Regions from separate parts of the Homo sapiens genome. Here region 1 is linked to region 2. Evidence: promoter capture Hi-C in 16 types of primary human blood cells and fetal thymus (Javierre and others, 2016). All regions are on one chromosome and are shown on one strand. The core of a region is centred on a gene start or on the middle of the fragment in contact, and the rest is flanking DNA. Distances in the headings are between cores, read along the strand shown.

What was found. Contacts are between HindIII fragments. The CHiCAGO score rates a contact against its expected background, and 5 or more counts as called.
Region 1: a contact is called between the fragment with the promoter of GAPVD1 here and the fragment with the promoter of NR6A1 in region 2, in 5 of 17 cell types (endothelial precursors, total CD8 T cells, naive CD8 T cells and 2 more). The highest score is 7.9, in endothelial precursors.

The regions. Positions count from the first base shown.
Region 1 is chr9:125,260,194-125,263,077 of GRCh38, reverse strand. It overlaps GAPVD1 (GTPase activating protein and VPS9 domains 1), which reads right to left and starts at 1,252. Exons shown (of 28, transcript NM_001282680.3): 1 at 1,119-1,252. RefSeq lists silencers at 1,106-1,235, 1,174-1,355. The HindIII fragment of the contact is 7,780 bases long and covers 711-2,884 here.
Region 2 is chr9:124,769,783-124,772,668 of GRCh38, reverse strand. It overlaps NR6A1 (nuclear receptor subfamily 6 group A member 1), which reads left to right and starts at 1,358. Exons shown (of 10, transcript NM_033334.4): 1 at 1,358-1,649. The coding sequence starts at 1,550. It overlaps LOC124900274 (a long non-coding RNA gene), which reads left to right and starts at 2,189. Exons shown (of 2, transcript XR_007061773.1): 1 at 2,189-2,886. It overlaps LOC107987126 (a long non-coding RNA gene), which reads right to left and starts at 1,312. Exons shown (of 2, transcript XR_001746926.3): 1 at 896-1,312. RefSeq lists enhancers at 959-1,218, 1,009-1,576 and silencers at 1,289-1,868, 2,409-2,658. The HindIII fragment of the contact is 3,513 bases long and covers 538-2,886 here.

The DNA of each region.
Region 1 (2,884 bases), core at 3-2,502, 490 kb before region 2:
ATATGGAAATATTAGCAAAACAACAAACTAATATGGTCATAATATATGTACAGCCTTATTATCACATTAAATAACAATGTCTAACGGCGGGTCTAGTAACACCAGAAATTCAAAGAAGTGTTAACCATAAATGATATTCTGAGCTATCTGCAACTGTAAACATGATGCAAAAATATCCGTAATTTTTATTGATCACAAAGTCATAGGCGCTGCTAATGCTACTCTGGCTTGTTGTCCACATTCGTAACTGAAGGAAATAATAAGTTTCAGTTAGCAGTCAATAAAAATAATGATGTCATTTTATCCTCCTTCTAGTGAAAGGACCCTTCTAATTCTATCCATCAATGAACTCCAGTTTAAAACCCCTCTCTAGTTCAAAGTCCTGCTCAGAACTGATTTTCGTCATAAATTTAAAAATAAAAACACTGATTCCTCCTTTGACCTAGTTCTCATCTGAACCTATCACTATGTCTCCCTGTTTTTATGCACATTTATACACAGAACCCTGGGTGTACTTCTGTGGTTTGCCTAGCCAGCACTCACTACAATTTTGCCAGTCAATAAAAGGTGAAGTTAAAAGAAAAGGGATGGAAACAACCAACAGCTCCCTCACTTTCAGACCTCCGACAGCAAGTGGAAAGATGCCAAGTACAGTGAGTGTCTGTGTTAGGTGGGCTGCCCCCAGACCCGTGTGTCCAGCTTGTCAAGCTTCCCTGCAGCACGATATCTTTATCAGCGACACTCAGAAGACATTCCATTTCGTTCTCGCCTCCTATACTCAGTTCCCTACCTGCCGGGCCTCTCGTCTCTGGCCCCCACCCGAGGCCGCCCCGCGGTCCTCCTGTCCCTTCCCATCCCATCCCCCACGCGTCTCTCCCTCTCCTCAGCCCCAGGCCGCCCTGGCTCCTGCGCGCCGCCACATCTCTCCCCTGGGTCTAACCCAGTGTCCCCCGACCCCCACCTCGCCCGACACTGACGGGAAGAGCCCAGGACCCCGGGGTCAGTTGGACCTGACGGCCGGGCAGTCAGAGACAGGCTGCGGCCCTAGGCCGGAGCAACCCGGCCGCGAGGCAGGGAGCCGCTCACAGCCCGCGGACTAAATCGGGACGCGTACTCACCAAGGGGGTCATGCGGGGGAGGACACGGAGGACTCTGTCGGACCGCCACTCGGCCTCGGAGCCGTCGCCCTAGCCGGTGACTGCCCCCGCCGCCGCTGCCGCCACCTTCGCCACTCGCCTGTTGGCTTCCCTGCGTCCTGCAGCGGCGCTGCCGCCACGCCAGCGCGCGTGCGCAGCGCCGCGGGGGCCTCTGGGAGCTGTAGTTCCGCCCGGGCGGCTAGGGGCTCCCACTTCCGCCTTAGGCAGCCCTAGGTCAGCTGCCCCCTGAGGCTGTCGTGGGTGTCCGGGTCCGGAATCGTCTTCCGGAAGGCTGTTCACCAGGCCTGGGCCCTGGTTTCCGCCTGCAGTAATGCTGGACGTGAAGAATCCGACTGAGCAAGTATGTGTAAAGCAAAAATGTAGAGCGTTTTATGCTTTCTGTGACAACGCTCAGTTGCCCAGGACACATTATTCGCATGAATGACTCTCTCTCTTCTCTGTTTCTCTCTCACACGTACGCACACACTACTTACAAACCTCCCTTCCCTTTTTTTTTTTTTTTCGAGACGGAGTCTGGCTCTGTCGCCCAGGCTGGAGTGCAGTGGCTCAATCTCGGCTCACTGCAAGCTCCGCCTCCCGGGTTCACGCCATTCTCCCGCCTCAGCCTCCCAAGTAGCTGGAACTACAAGCGCCCGCCACCACGCCCGGCTAATTTTTTGATTTTTAGTAGAGACGAGGTTTCACCGTGTTAGCCAGGATGGTCTCGATCTCCTGACCTCGTGATCCGCCCGCCTCGGCCTCCCAAAGTGCTGGGATTACAGGCGTGAGCCACCGCTGCCGGCCCCTCCCTTCCCTTTTGTTCTAAGTGCCATTAATTGGTTTGGATGGTATCTGGATTTTCAGTGTAAAACCTGCCTTCCCACTTCTCAGTTTCTAAAATCTTGCTTATCATAAACTTCACCATGCAGTTATTTTAGGTAAGTCAATAAATGAACTGTCTAATAATTTTTGTAACACCATAACTCATATATTCAGAGGTCAAGTTAGCTGAGTTGAACAGTCTAGAAACCTTAAAATTGGAAGATACCTGCTTAAAGGTCACTAGTGCAACTGTTGCCCAGGCAGGAATTCCCTCCTGTACATTCAGCCAGATGGTCATCTTCCTGTTCAACAGTTCAAATTTCAGGGAGCTCACTCCCTCAAGTAATGCAGCCTGCTCCACTGTTGGACAGCTCTAAATGTTAGAAAGTTCTGCCTCCTGCTGAGCTGAAATCTGTTTCCCTTTATTTCCTTCCATTGCTGGTAGTTAGGCTGCCTGGAGCAATACAGAATGTCTTCCACTTGACAGATCTTCAAAAAATTGAGAACAATGATTATATCCTCCAATACTGGGAGTCTCCAGGCAAAAAAAGGAAAAAAGTAATAATCATTTCCCCAGCTATTTCAAATGTCAATCAACTCCCAAACTGCTTTCTATCTACTCACCTCTCTTGATGTCACCTTTAGGGGCATGGTGGCATATGCCTATAATCCTAGCACTTTGCGAGGCCAAGGCAGGAGGATTGCTTGAGCCCAGAAGTTCAAGACCAGCCTGAGCAACATAGTGAAACCCCAACTCTACAAAAAATACAAAAATCAGCGAGGCATGGTGGCTTGCACCTGTAGTCCCAGCTACTAGGGAGGCTGAAGTGGGAGGATCACCAAGCCCAAAAAGGTCAAGGCTGCAGTGAGCTGTGATCATGCCACTGAACTCCATCCTGGGCAGCAGAGTGAAACCTGTCTCAAAA
Region 2 (2,886 bases), core at 109-2,608:
AGCAGGTATGAGGTTTAGACGGCAGAGCGTTAATGTAAGTCTCCCAGATTACGTATGAAATACAGTTTCACCAGGGTTGGTAAGGTCCAGTTGCCCCCAAGTGCAGAGAAGCGTTGCAACTTTCGTAGCAGGTGAGGGACGGGGTATGGTGCGAAATGTGGGCAAGGGTCAGGCCAAGCAGGGATGCGAATGCCAGGACGAGGACTTAAAATTAGGCAAAAAAAAAATAAAAGGGCTAAGGGATTGGTGGGGCGGGTGGGGCAGGAGAGGGCGAATGAGCGGCCACCGAGGAAGCTGCAGCATAATCCGGCAGAGCAGAAGTGGGCAAAGCACCAACGTTCTCGTTCTTTGTCTTCAAGTGGGCCAGGTAGGCCTTAGACCCTTGGCGGCAGCAGCGAAATCCTTTCCCGATGGGGTCGCCGAAGACGGACACCCCGGCGGGCCTAGTGACCGGTGGCCGCGCGCCACCTGGTGGCCGCAGCGGGTGGATTCGGCCGGGAGCCGCTGCAAAATTCGGGATTTTGCTTCCGGAAAGCTTCGGGAAACTGAGGTGGGAGGGGCAGGGGTTTGCGATCTTCCAACTTGATCCTGTCCTTATTCCAACCCCCTTTTACAGATAGGGAAACTGAGGAAAGGGGAAGGCAAACAAGGCTGGGCAAGGGATCCCTCTTAAACGGAAGGTTTCAAGACACCTGGGGTCAAGAGCCTAGGGCTTTCTTTAATAGCCCCAATGGCCCGGAGCTTAGTTTGCCCATCTGTTCTATGGGCAGGGGGAAAATGAAAGGGGAGGAGGGGAAACTTTAGTCTTTGCCGCCCACCCGGAGGTAAAAAGTCTTTAAAGACTACCCCGGAAAGAAGAGTTTTATATATTCCATTTGCATACGAACGCAGTCACCTCGAGTTAAACTCCGGTCCTTTAATCTCCGGTCCAATTTGTCCCGCAGCGGCAGGGAGAGGCCCACGTGAGTACCTTCAAGCCCCGCCTCCAGGGCCCCGCCCACAGGGCTGGGCTTCGTTGCACGTGCTCACCCGGCTGCCTCGCGATCCACCTCCTCGCAAAGACTCATTGTTGGGGTGGGGGGTTACGAGGACTCTTAGGGAACTTTGATCAGGTAGAAATCACAATCAAGACAAGGCCCGGAAGTATCCGCTTACTACATAGACATCAAACGCTTTGTCATGGTTCTTGATATTGACAGACTTTAGCTTTCCCTTCTCAGGACTTCTTATCCCTCCTTCCACCCCTTCAGTTGGTGCGGTCGGCGTGGCCGGCCTCGCTGAGCGGACTCCAACTTCCAGCGTGCCCCGCAGGGCCTTGCGCGGCAGCGGCGTGTGACGTCAGGGGAGGGAGCTGGCCAGTGCTGAGGGGGCGCGGCGCGGAGGGGCGCGGAGCGGCGCGGAGCCGGGCGGCTCGGGGCCCAGAGAGAGCCGCGGCCGGGAGCTCGCGGGCTCCTGACAACCTCCTCCCCTCGGCGGACGACGACCACGGCGACTAGGGCGCCGGTCATGGCGGAGCAACAAACCCGGCGCGGACCCTAGGCACCACCGCATGGAGCGGGACGAACCGCCGCCTAGCGGAGGGGGAGGCGGCGGGGGCTCGGCGGGGTTCCTGGAGCCTCCCGCCGCGCTCCCTCCGCCGCCGCGCAACGGTGGGTGAGGGGCCTGCGACGCCCGGGCCAGGCAGGAACCGGCTTCCTGAGCCTCCGCCAGGGATCCCCCTCCTCTCTGCCGACCCTCGCCCTGGGAAGCCGCAGCGGCCCCGCGGCCCCTTAGGGTGGCCCTTCACCCCGTTCCCCGTTGGCGCGGACCCTCCCTCTCCTCCCCGGTCTCGCTCAGGGTGGATCCTCCTCCTTCGTCCCTGTTCCCTTCTGCGCGGACCCTCCCCCTGCCCGGGTCCCTGGGCACCGAGCTTCATTTCCCCCTCCCCCCGTCCCCTCTGCACAGGCTTCCCCTCCCCCCGTCCCCTCAGCACCAATCCTCCCTCCTCCCCCCGGGTCCCCTCCCCCTGTCTTCCCAGCACCGAACCTTCCCCTCCCCCCGGGCTCCTCAGGTTGGAAGTCCCCACCGCGGTCCGTCAGTGGGGGCATCCCCTCACTCGGGTTCCCTTAACGCAGAGCCTCTCTTTTCCCCTACAGGGGTTCCTCCTCCCACCGAGGACGCTCCCTTCTTGCCCTGTTGACCCGACTCCACAGCACCCTTGTACCGCTCAGCTTTCTAGAGCGTTTTCCTCTTCTGCAGCCTCGAGCGTTCTTCCTTGAATACTACGAGCCCCCCACCTCTGCCGAACCCCCGTTCGCTAGACATCCCCCAGTCGTTTCCTTTTTCGGACCCCTTCGCGCCTCCTGCTTCCCCTGCGCCTCACCTTCCTCAACGCCCCGCGCGCTCTGGCCGGTCTCCGCCCCTGCTCAGCTCCCCTCTCCGCCAGGCAACGGCTTTCCCTGGCCGAGGGCTCCAGCCCGCCCCGGGGCCCCGGACACCTGCCTCCTCCCGGCTTCTGCCCGGCAGGTCCCGGTCCCCACCTCTTAGTCTCAGTTCTCCTCTTTCTTGTCCCGATCCGGGACCTTGGGAGCTGAGAATCCCTCACCTGGCCCGGCCCTTCCTACCGCTCGTCCCTCGCCCCCTCGCCCGGGCCGGGTCCTCAGGTTCCTCGGGGCTTCCTCGCCCTCCTCCCCTTCGCTCCCTCCCCCTGCGGGGTGTTTTATTTGTATCTGTTTGATATTTTCCTCCTCGGTGTTTGCCGCGGAATGTTTTTATTGGTAACGTGTTAGGAGCTTTTGTGAGGTCGTAAAAGGTGAACTTTTGAACTTGGAAAGCGCCCTGGAGCAATTAGCGCAGGCGATCGCCCCGGGAGGCCTGCATTACAAAGGGTGCTCGCACCGGCCGGCA